Linked DNA regions of Homo sapiens: region 1 is linked to region 2. The links are contacts of gene promoters, found by promoter capture Hi-C in blood cells and fetal thymus (Javierre and others, 2016). All regions are on one chromosome and are shown on one strand. The core of a region is centred on a gene start or on the middle of the fragment in contact, and the rest is flanking DNA. Distances in the headings are between cores, read along the strand shown.

Evidence for each region. The method cuts DNA at HindIII sites, captures the fragments that hold promoters and counts their contacts. A CHiCAGO score of 5 or more calls a contact.
Region 1: the fragment with the promoter of CEP19 here is called in contact with a fragment that was not itself captured in region 2 in 1 of 17 cell types (fetal thymus); the score reaches 5.2 in fetal thymus.

Annotation. Positions count from the first base shown.
Region 1 is chr3:196,709,452-196,715,053 of GRCh38, forward strand. CEP19 (centrosomal protein 19) reads right to left here and starts at 2,799. Exons shown (of 3, transcript NM_032898.5): 1 at 2,478-2,799. It overlaps PIGX (phosphatidylinositol glycan anchor biosynthesis class X), which reads left to right and starts at 2,926. Exons shown (of 6, transcript NM_017861.4): 1 at 2,926-3,193. The coding sequence starts at 3,082. RefSeq lists silencers at 2,549-2,861, 2,696-3,325. The HindIII fragment of the contact is 5,927 bases long and covers 1-3,502 here.
Region 2 is chr3:196,075,331-196,081,708 of GRCh38, forward strand. It overlaps TFRC (transferrin receptor), which reads right to left. Exons shown (of 19, transcript NM_001128148.3): 2 at 1,734-1,792; 3 at 1-30. The coding sequence starts at 1,769. Among named protein-coding and RNA genes, the nearest start is that of TFRC, 3.6 kb to the right of the region's middle. RefSeq lists an enhancer at 5,012-5,511. The HindIII fragment of the contact is 1,767 bases long and covers 3,808-5,574 here.

The DNA of each region.
Region 1 (5,602 bases), core at 1,549-4,048, 630 kb after region 2:
GGGCATTCCATACATTGTTTAATGCTATGAATTAACATGATGGTCCCTGTACATTTTTGAAAGCATTTACAGTCTAGAAGCCTGATCAAAAAGCAGACCTGCTGCAGAATCAGCTTCTTCATATACACGTCAGTAACGTCTGCAGCTACATCATATACATCACATATCTCAGCTTCTTCATATACAATAGTCAGTAATGTCTGCAGGGCTTTTATTTTGGCCTGTGTGTCTCACTATATGATAATTTTCTAGCTACAAGAAACAGCTATTTGTAGATGAATACTTACTATTCTCTCTTCCTTTCCCCACCCTCAGTGCCCAAAGAATACACTTAACCCTAAGCACTGCTTTTGATGTGACTGTGACATTCCCAGAAAGATTTGTAAATGTCAAGAAACATTGAGGTAAAGTGGCATAGGGTGATGATATCTTCGTGAACTCAGTTCTGCTGGAGAATCACTATTAGGAACATACTTTTTATTAAATACTTAGCAGTGATTATACACGTCATTGTAGAATACTGGGGGCAAAGGAGAGGGGAAACCTATAGAAAATAATCACCCTTGATTGTGTCCAGTCTTTTTTCTAGGCATATAGTTTATAGTATGTTTCATACATACCTTATCATACAAGCTATTTCCTGACGTTCAAATTTAACAACATATATTATTATTTTGTCATCAAATGTTTTACTACAATGTAACATTTTATATGACTGCTAAATGTTTTATTTTATGGATGTACTATAATCATATTATTCACCACTTATTGTTGGGCATGAGAATTTTTACTCTTAGAAAATTAATCACATATAAGCCCAGGCACAGTGGCTCACCCCAGCCAGCACTTTGGGAGGTCAAGGTGGGCAGATCATTTGAGGTCAGGAGTTCGAGACCAGCCTGGCCAACATGGTGAAAACCACGTCTGTACTAAAAATACAAAAATTAGCTGGACATAGTGGCAGGTGCCTGTAATCCCAGCTACTCGAGAGGCCAAGGCAGGAGAATCACTTGAACCTGGGAGGCGGAGGTTGCAGTGAGCTGAGATGGTACCACTGCACTCCAGCATGGGTGACAAGAGCAAGACTCCATCTCAAAAAGATGGAGGCAGGTGTGGTGGCTCAGGCCTGTAATCCCAACACTTTGGGAGGCCAAGGAGAGGAGATACCTTGAGGCCAGGAGTTTGAGACCAGCCTGGGCAACACAGCGAGACCATGCATGTCTCTACAAAAAATTTAAAAATTGGCCAGGCATGGCAGCATGCACCTGTAGTCCCAGCCACACCAAAGGCCAAGGTGGGAGAATCGCCTGAACCCAGGAGTTTGGGGCTGCAGTGAGTTGAGATGGTGCCACTGCACAACAGCCTCTCCAAAGCATGATACGCCTATTCTTAAAAAAAAAAAAAAAAAAAAAAAAAACTACTTTAAAAAATTACTGTGCTCTACCTCTAATCTGATGCAATGAGCTCACACCATTTCTCCTTCTTTTCCTTCTCTTTTCTTGCTTTTTTTTTTTTTTTAACGAATACTATTCCCAATTCACCTAACTAAAATTTGATGTTAGTAAACTACAACCTACGGGGCACATATAAACTCCACACACTGAAGCAATGGCTGTACTCGTCAAAGATGTATGCAGTTGGTACTCAAATAATGTAGTTTTTTTTTTACTAGACTCTTTTTAAAATTTAACTTTAATTTTTGCTAAAGTAATGTTTGTATTTGGAATATAAAATAATTCTATGAGGCTTATAACAACAAACTATCGTCCTTGGCCCTACTCCTCTTCATAGGGAGCCAGACTGAATTTTAAAAGGCATATCTTCCAAAATTTCTCTCTCCATTTCTTAAGAAACATGCTTATACTACCATTTTCAGTTTTTTTTTTTCTTTTGAAACAGAGTCTCCCTCTGTCGCCTAGGCTGCAGTGCAGTGGCGTGATCTCCCCTCGCTGCAACCTCCGCCTCCTGGGTTCAAGCGATTCTCGTGCCTCAGCCTCCCGAGTAGCTGGAATTACAGGTGCCTACCACCATGCCCAGCTAATCTTTGTATTTTCAGTAGAGACGGGGTTTCGCCATCTTGGCCAGGCTGGTCTCGAACTCCTGACCTCAGGTGATTCGCCCAAAGTGCTGGGGCTATAGGCGTGAGCCACCTGCCCGGCTATTTTCAGTTTTGGATAGTATGTTTTGACATACACTCTGTTTCCTCTTTGAGACACCCGCTCTAGAGCCCTCTATTCCACTCCAAGCCGCCTGGATGCTCTCTTGGCCTGCTTACAGATTCCACTCTGTTTAGGAAGAAGGACGGCACGTTTATCCAATTATTCTTCCTGGACACGAATACTCCTCTCCCCAGAGATCAGTAACTGCCCACAATCTTGTTAGGAAGCCCCACAGCACCTAAGGGTACGAATGTCCCCAAAGAGTAGACGATTCTCTCCCTACTCACGTCTCCACTAGTGCAAGGCTGGCTTTCTTACCCTTAGAGGAATACAGAAATGACATCGTCTGCAGGCCAACGTCTAAACAACCAGGAGTGGGTTTTTCCACCCAACCGCAGTGCACGCAAAGCCCCTAAGCCGACTGTGAGACCGGGCGGAGCCTGGCGCTGCAGGAAGAGGCGACAGCCACAGCCCTACTGACGAGCCCGAGGGGTGAACTCCCCGGCGGGAGGCCCGAACCCTCAAACACCGGGAAGCGGAGGTGGGGGCCGGCTGGGGGACCGGTCCACCGGCTCCCACCTCGGCGTACAGGGATTCCAGGTCCCGGCGAGCGCTGGCCTAGCGGTTTCCACAGCGACAGGCCGGGCGCGCGTCCCCGCGCGTGCGCAGCTCCTCGCCCGCCCCCGGGTGGGCGGAGCAAGGAACAGCTGGGCGGGGACGACCGCCCCACGCCGCGCGGGAACCCTTGGGGGCCGGGGCTGCAGGCAGCTGGGAACCGCGGGCGCTAGGCGCGCGCACCCAGCACTCGGTCCCAGCCGATAAATCTGGGGCAGCGCGCGGTAGGAGCTGCGGGCGGCCAGGCCCCTTCCTGCGTCCGCACCTGGCCCCGCGCGCCCCTCTCGGGCGTCCGGCTTCCGGCGTCCTGGCGGCTCGGGTGGCGGCGGTTCGGGCGGCCGCCTGGCTGCTCCTCGGGGCGGCGACCGGGCTCACGCGCGGGCCCGCCGCGGCCTTCACCGCCGCGCGCTCTGACGCCGGTAAGGGGGGCGGGGCTTGGGGGGCCAGAGCGTGGGAGCGGTCCCGGCTCCCGGGCCTCTCGGCGGGTTGCGGGGATGTGGGGACCCGGCGCGGGACCTAGATCAGTAGGGCGAGCCGGAGGAGGTCAGACACTAGAGCCGTGTGCCCTCCTTCCCTCCCGTGCGCTTTGCTCTGCGGCGGATCCCGGGTCTCCGGGAGAGTCGGGCTCGGGCCCTGCGGTTCCCAGGCTGGACTGGCCGCCCTGTTACTAAAGTTCTGAGAAGGAAAGTCAGCCGTCAAGCGTCTTGGGATGCTCTTGAGCTGCACGAAGCTTCTGATCACCAAGGGGCCAGGCAAGGCCTTAGCGCCCTGTGAGGCCTGAGAATCCCCAAACTGAATGTAGGACTCCGTGGCAAACTGCTAGTTGTTCGTGCAAGTAGTAGTTGGCAAACTGCTTGTACTACTGAGACGGGCAAGTGCGGGAATAATTACAATAAAGGGTAAGGTTTGATGGGAGGAAAGCACAAACCCTACAAGTTTCTCCATCTGTAAAATGAGGATGTTTCTGTCATCCTTGGTATCATTTAGATCCGTTTAGTATCTGTCAATCAGTGCAGTTCTGCTTGTGTGTTTACATATTGGGTTTTCAAGTTTATCTAAACAAAGGATTATGAGGCCAAGAAGATTTTTTTTTTGAGATGGAGTCTCACTCTGTTGCCAGGCTGGAGTGCAATGGCGCGATCTCGGCTCACTGCAACCTCCGCCTTTCCCAAGTTCAAGCAATTCTTCTGCTTCAGCCTCCCAAGTAGCTGGGATTATTACAGGTGCCCGCCACCATGCCCAGCTAATTTTTTGTATTTTTAGTAGAGACGGGGTTTCGCCGTATTGGTCAAGCTGGTCTTGAACTCCTGACCTCAGGTGGTCCACCCTCCTCAGCCTCCCAAAGTGCCAGGATTACAGGTGTGAACTACCATGCTCGGCCAGAAGAATTTTTAAACAGTTGGATTTGGTAATCTGTAGAGGCTTCCAACGTTAGCATTTTATAATTGAAAAGGGGTCAAAATTAGCGGGGCGTGATGGCGTGCCCCTGTAGTCCCAGCTACTCAGGGGGCTAAGGCAGGAGAATCGCTTGAACTAGGGAGGCGGAGGTTGCAGTGAGCCGAGATCGCGCCATTGCACTCCAGCCTGGGTGACAGAGGGAGACTCTGTCTCAAAAAAAAAAAAAAAAAGGAAAAAGAAGTCAATTTCCAGAGCCAGTTCACCACTACCAAAGTAATAGTTAAGAGGAAAAATGTTGAAGGTAAATTCACATTCAACAAATTCGTTTTAAAAATGGTACTTTTGCCTTTAAAATCATGACATTCTAGTATTTGCTGTACTATTTGTAAATTAGCCTTTCTCCGGTCCCAATGATCAACTGCTGTCTGGTGTACATACCAGTAGAATTTAAGCCTGTTCATAATTTTTCTTCTAATTTAATTTATAGTTGGATAGCAGTCCTCACTTCCCACCCTACCCCCATTAAAATTAAACAGGATGAAGAAAGATCTGGATTTGTGCTGGGCACAGTGGCTCACACCTGAAATTCTAACACATTGGGAGGCTGAGGTGGAAGGATTGCTTGAGGCCAAGAGTTCAAGACCAGCCTGGAAAACATAGCAAGACCCTGTCTCTGCAAAAAAATTTAAAAGTAGCCAGGTGTGGTGGCGTGGGCCTATAATCCTAGCTACTTGGGAGGCCGATGTGGGAGGATTGCTTGAGCTCAGAAGTTCAAGGCTGCAGTGAGCTGTGATCATGCCACTGCATTCCAGCTTGTGTGACAGAGTAAGGCCCTGTCTCTTTTTTTTTTTTTTTTTTTGAGACGGAGTCTTGCTCTCTTGCCAGGCTAGTGCAGTGGCGCAATCTCGGCTTATTGCAACCTTCACCTCCCAGGTTCAAGCGATTCTCCTGCCTCAGCCTCCCAAGTAGCGGGAACTACAGGTGCACACCACGACGCCCGGCTAATTTTTTGTATTTTAGTAAAGACGGGGTTTCACCATGTTGGCCAGGTTGGTCTTAAACTGTTGACCTTGTGATCTGCCTGCCTCCCCCTCCCAAAGTGCTGGGATTACAGGCATGAGTCACTGCACCCAGGCTATTTGTTCTTTTTTTTAAGAGGCAGAGCCTTGCTCGGCTGGGCGCTGTGGCCCATGCCTGTAATCCCAGCATTTTGGAAGGCCAGGGTGGGCAGATCACCAGGTCAGGAGATCGAGACCAGCCTGGCCAACGTGGTGAAACTCCATCTCTACTAAAAATACAAGAATTAGCCGGGCGTAGTGGCGCGTGCCTGTAGTCCCAGCTACTCTGGAGGCTGAGGCAGGAGAATTGCTTGAACCTGGGAGGCAGAGGTTGCAGTGAGCCAAGATCGTGCAACTGCAGTGCAGCCTGGC
Region 2 (6,378 bases), core at 3,441-5,940:
CCGGGTATATGACAATGGTTCTCCACCAAACTGTGTTGCGGAAAAAGGCATGATGAAGAACAGGCACGGGAATGTTTAGGAAAAGCTCGTTTAGGTATATGCTTGTTATTGGGCCATTACTATAACTTGCTATATATTCCTTAGGGTGTTCTCCTTTCAAACCAACATTCTTCCCTGGGCCCAGTCAAGGGCTAGTTCACACTGGTCTTCTCAGTCAGTCTCTCCCTTTTTGTAAATTTTTTTTTTTTTTTGAGACAAGGTCTCCCTCTCTCTCCCAGGATGGAGTACAGTGGTGTGATCACAGCTCACTGCAGCCTCAAAATCCTGGGCTCTACTGATTCCCCCACCTCAGCCTCCTGAGTAGCTGGGACTAGGGGCACAAATCAGTTCAGGATACTATGCAGTAACCCAGACCATGATGTTGGTGGGAGCAAGGGAGCAAGAATAAAACAAAGTTATAAATAAGCAGAAATTCTGACTAAGCATAAGATAGAAGACAGAAAAGAGAGAATAGACCAGACACAGTGGCTCATGCCTGTAATCCCAGCACTCTGGGGGGGGCCGAGGCACACAGATCATTTATGGTCAGAAGTTTGAGACAAGCCTGACCAACATGGTGAAATCCCCTCTCACTAAAAATTCAAAAAAAAAAAAACCACTAGCTGGGCATGGTGTCGCACGCCTGTAATCTCAGCCACCCAGGAGGCTGAGGCAGGAGAATCGCTTGAACTCAGGAGGCGGAGGTTACAGTGAGCTAAGATTGCACACTGCATTCCAACCTGGGCAACAGAGCCCAGGCTGAGACTCCATCTCAAAAAATAAAATAAAAATAAATAAATAAATAAATACAAATAAGAGAGAATTGAGGTCTAGACAGAGTGTTAAGAGTTAGGCTCCTTCTCGTCATGGCCTGGATGGCTGTTTTTTTTGTATGTTCTTTCAGCTTTCACTCATACTGTCTACTCAATGTTTCTTAAAATTTCATTTTTTTTTTAATAGAGATGGGCTTGCTATGTTGCCCAGGCAAGTCTCAAACTCCTCAAGTGATCCTCCTGCCTCACCTCCCAAACTGCTGGGATTGCGGGAGTGAGCCACCACACTTGGCCTCATTCAGCCTTTGCTTTTTTTTTTTTTTTTGAGACGGAGTCTCACTCTGTTGCCCAGGCTGGAGTGCAATGGCGTGATCTCAGCTCATTGCAACCTCCGCCTCCCGGGTTCAAGCAATTCTCCTGCCTCAGCCTCCCAAGTAGCTGGGACTACAGGCATGCGCCATGACACTCAGCTAATTTTTTTTTTTTTTGTATTTTTAGTAGAGACCGAGTTTCACCATGTTGGTCAGGCTGGTCTTGAACTCCTGACCACAGGTGATCCACCCACCTCAGCCTCCCAAAGTGCTGGGATTACAGGCGTGAGCCACAGCGCCCCGCAAGCCTTTGCTTTTTACTTCTCCTACTAAAACATTTTGATCAGGGCTTTAATTCGTCTTATCTACTAAGCTGTCCCCGTCTACCACACCCAGAACCACTCTGAGAATTCTTCCAAGACTTTCCATAATTAACCCTACTGAAGGCTGAACTCTTTGTGAGATCAGTTATGCCTCAAGACTACCAATTCAAATGTAAATGAATACCTGATAATAGATTGGGGTTATTATTTCATGCTTACTCAGTTAAAGTCATGCTTGTATATTTCACATTCTTGCAGACACAGAAATACAACTGAAAATATCTTACCAAGTTAGAGAATGCTGATCTAGCTTGATCCATCATTCTGAACTGCCACACAGAAGAACCTAGGTATCAGAATAGAGAATTATTGAGAAAGATACTACTGTATCAGATTAGTGAGCTTTCTATTACCAGGCTAAATGATACATTAAATTTTTAAAATACATTATCACTTTTCTAGAAAAGGTATTTAACCATAGTTTACATGACAACTAAATTAAGTGGGATCCTTTTTAAAGTTTGTTATATACATAATTCTTTTTTTTTCTTTTTGTAGAGACAAGGTCACCCTATGTTGCCCAGGCTGGTCTTGAACTCCTGGCCTCAAACAATCCTCCCACCTTGGCCTCCCAAAGTGCTGCAATTATAAGTACGAACCACTATGTTCTGAGTAGACAAAAGTGACACATACTGCTGGGCGGGGTGGCTCACACCTGTAATCCTAGCACTTTGGGAGGCTGAGATGGGTGGATCACCTGAGGTCAGGAGTTCAAGACCAGCCTGGCCAACATGGAGAAACCCTGTCTCTACTAAAAATACAAAAATTAGCCGGACGTGGTGGTGGGCGCCTGTAATCCCAGCCACTCGGGAGCCTGAGGCAGGAGAATGGCGTGAACCCAGGAGGTGGAGCTTGCAGTGAGCCAAGATCGCGCCACTGCACTCCAGCCTGGAAAACAAGAGCAAAACTCTGTCTCAAAAAAAAAAGAAAGTGACACATACAAAAAGACAAAATTAAGACTAAGGCAGACAAGACCAGTTATGCTACAAATACCACAAACCATCTCCAATGGGAAGGGGAAGAAATACTGATCCTGACTGAATGAATAGTTCCTACAAGTGATTCGATCTTTGACACAAGAAGAAACATGAAACACAGATTACGCTGTTTTACAGATGAAGAGGCCAGTTATTAGAGAAACTAAGTGGCCTGTTCAAGGCTGAAAATTGATAATCTAAGCGAAGTTAAATGGGTTACTGGGTTATAGAAATTGTGTTATCATCTCTGGAAATTTAAGACATTAACCTTAACTTTTGTCAAAGCAAAATACATCTCTGTAATCAAAGTCCTAAGTTAAGTTAAAGGCCTTAACTGAAATCTGAATTTTCCAGTTAATTTGGTTTGAGGGCATCTAGATACTTGAAAATGACATTATCCTGAGATTTGCAAAATGGACATTTATTGGATACCATTTTAAAGCTTTTCCTATATACGAGTACACTTAGGGCATATTAAACACACACGGCACAAAGCAAGCTGTGAGGTATACGCAAATTGTAAAGCAAAGGGTATTATAACTGGCATTAAGAAAAAGCTTTCTGGCCAGGCACGGTGGCTCATGCCTGTAATCCCAACACTTTGGGAGGCCGAGGCAGGTGGATCACGAGGTCAGGAGTTTGAGACCAGCCTGGCCAAGGTGGTGAAACCCCATCTCTACTAAAAATACAAAAATTAGATGGGCGTGGTGGTGGGCACCTGTAATCCCAGCTACTGGGGAGGCTGAGGCAGGAGAATCGCTTGAACCCGGGAGGTGGAGGTTGCAGTGAGCCGAGATGGCACCACTGCACTCCAGCCTGGGTGACGGAGTGAAACTCCATCTCAAAAAAATAATAAAAAAGAAAAAGAAAAAGCTCTAAAACCTATTACAAAAAATTCTTTTTAAATTCAAGCTTTAAAAACCAGTGTCCATATGCAATAGACCATATTCTTAGAAGCATAATCTTTTTTTTTTTCTTGAGACAGAGTTTCGGTCTTGTTGCCTAGGCTGGAGTGCAATGGCAGGATCTCGGCTCACTGCAACCTCCCCCTCCCGGGTTCAAGCCATTTTCCCACCTCAGACTCCGAGTAGCTGGGATTACAGGTGCCCACCACCATGCCCAGCTAATTTTTGTATTTTTAGTAGAGACGGGATTTTACCACGTTGGCCAGGCTGGTCTGGAACTTCTGACCTAGGGTGATCCACCCACCTGGCCTCCCAAAGTGCTAAGATTAGTTACTTGATAAGAACATCCCAAGGAAATCGAAGGCGTGAGCCACTGCGCCCAGCCAGAAGCACAATCTTTTGCCCCTTCTGTTACAAAAAGCTTATCACTACCACTCCACCAGAACAGTAAGGACCCAATCATTAGAGCCAGAACTGGAAGGCCCCACCCTGAACCAATTTTAATCATCCTTTTCTAGGAAAAAACATCTTGCAAGTTTTAACACTCATCTGAACCATCATTCCTCAAGTTTTCTTGTTTTAAATTAATTTTAAGAACACAAAGCGATGGCCGGGCATGGTGGCTCACGCCTGTAATCCCAGCAACACTTTGGGAGGCCGAGGCGAGCAGATCACCTGAGGTTGAGAGTTTGAGACTAGCCTGACCAAACATGGAGAAATCCCATCTCTACCAAAAAAATACAAAATTAGCCGGGCATGGTGGCGCATGCCTGTAATCCCAGCTACTGGGGAGGCTGAGGCAGGAGAATCACTTGAACCTGGGGGAGGTGGAGGTTGCAGGGAGCCGAGATCACACCATTGCACTACAGCCTGGGCAACAAGCGTGAAACTCTGTCAAAAATAAATAAATAAATAATAATCTAAGCTACTTGTGTTATCTTTGGTGTTCTCAATGGTGACTGAAAACAACAATTCAATTTCTCACATTAATAATGAAGCTCAGGTAGGCAAAACGTAGCCCCACGTTTTGAACCATGAAATGGAACACATTCACTGCCTAACAACTTCACTACCCTCTATTTTCTCCAAAATCAGACAGAATCCAGCCCCTGTTTTTACCCACCAACATTCTTCTCTGTTCCTTGAGGTCCTCCTCATTTCTTCCAGGCTCAGCTCAAGGCTTCATCTCTATGAAGCCTTCTCTGACTGACTTCCCTATCCTGTAATAACTGGTATTGAACTACCTGATAATGAGTAAAAATATTGTCTTTAACAGTACTGGGGCATGCCTGATGCATGAGATTCCAAATGATATGAAAAATATAATGAAAACATTGGACCAGGAATCTTTTCCCGTCCCCATCACTCTTCTGGTTTAGTAGGGAGTTTTTTTGTTGTTGTTTTTGAGATGGCATCTCGCTGTCGCGCAGGCTGGAGTGCAGTAGCACGATCTCAGCTCACTACAACCTCTGCCTCCCAGGTTAAAGCGACTCTCGAGCCTCAGCCTCCTGAGTGGCTGGGATTACAGGTGTGCACCACCATGCCCAGCTAATTTTTGTATTTTTCGTAGAGACGGGGTTTCACCATGTTGGCCAGGCTAGTCTCGAACTCCTCACCACAAGTGATCCACCTGCCTCGGCCTCCCAAAGTGCTGGAATTACAGACGTGAGCCACCATGCCCGGCTAATTTTTGTGTTTTTAGTAGAGACAGGATTTCACCATGTTAGTCAGACTGGACTCGAACTCCTGACCTTAGGTGATCCGCCTGCCTTGGCCTCCCAAAGTGCTGGGATTACAGGCGGGAGCCAATGCGCCCAGCCGAGGGTCATTTTTAACTAGCATTGTGATCGATTCAGGTTTAGCTGGGAATCTTGCTCCATGACATTTAAATACATTATCAGAGGCAAGTAACTGCCTCGCCTTAGGGCGGAGTTAGCCAAACTGCTGTCTATCTAACAATCTTCAACACAGGCTAGGTTTACAGCCACCATTACTTGATAAGAACATCCAAAGGAAATTGAAGGATGCTATGCTATATATAACCTTGCAAAATCGATGACAAAAATTATCTTAACTCTGAGTTTTCTTGAGAAGCATATTGTAACCCAAAATTCAGGGCCGGGGGGCGGGGGGAACCAGCAGGGTCCACAAGTACTCTAGACAGCCTAACCTTAATTTTCACAGTAAGCTTAGCATATAAGCATGGGGTAGCCAAATACAATTTCCTACTTTAATCCTCTTATCAACGGGGAAGAAAATGGAAAAAGCTGCAGAATCCAGTCCCCCGGGTAAGTGAGGTCTCTACAAGCAGTAAGCAGAGGGAAAGCGTTATCCGAAAAGAGCCGAATCAGAATGTATTTTCTTACCCACCCTCCCAACCTTAAAAGAACTGTCCAGCAGAATGTGACACAATCGGCCTCTCCGGCGCCCATCAATCCAGCACAGCCCTCTGACCACACCGCTAATCTCCAAGTATCTTTCACAAATAAGTCACTCCTATGGCTCCCGTCTTGTAGTGAGAACTGCTAGCAATATTCTTAATGTGAACACCTGCGGCGTTCAGTCGGATTCTGCCTTGAGAAAACAGAATCCACACACAAGGCGAACAGGCAGAGCATGGCAAGATCAGGTTGTACCAGAGCCGAAGGGTAAGTTTACAGAAACCCGTATCTAATTAATGCCTGTAACACGCTAGTAACCGAATCGGGGACAGCTTTGTCCCTTTCCGCAGTGAGAACGGGGCCCGCCCGGAGCCCGGGGAACCGAAGGTTTAGGAGCCCAAGGTCACCCACGAATCCCAGCCGTTCCCTGGGGCGACTTCCTGGAGCAGCCACGTGTTCCCCCGGCGCCGCACGCCGCGCAGCTGCACCTTGGCTGCGCCCGCGCTCCCGGACCCGCAGCCCGGAGCCGGCGCACTAGGGCCTGCGGCCTTCAAGGGCGAGGACCCGAAGTCCCCGGGGCTGAGAGCGACAGTGGGGGTACACCTGGTC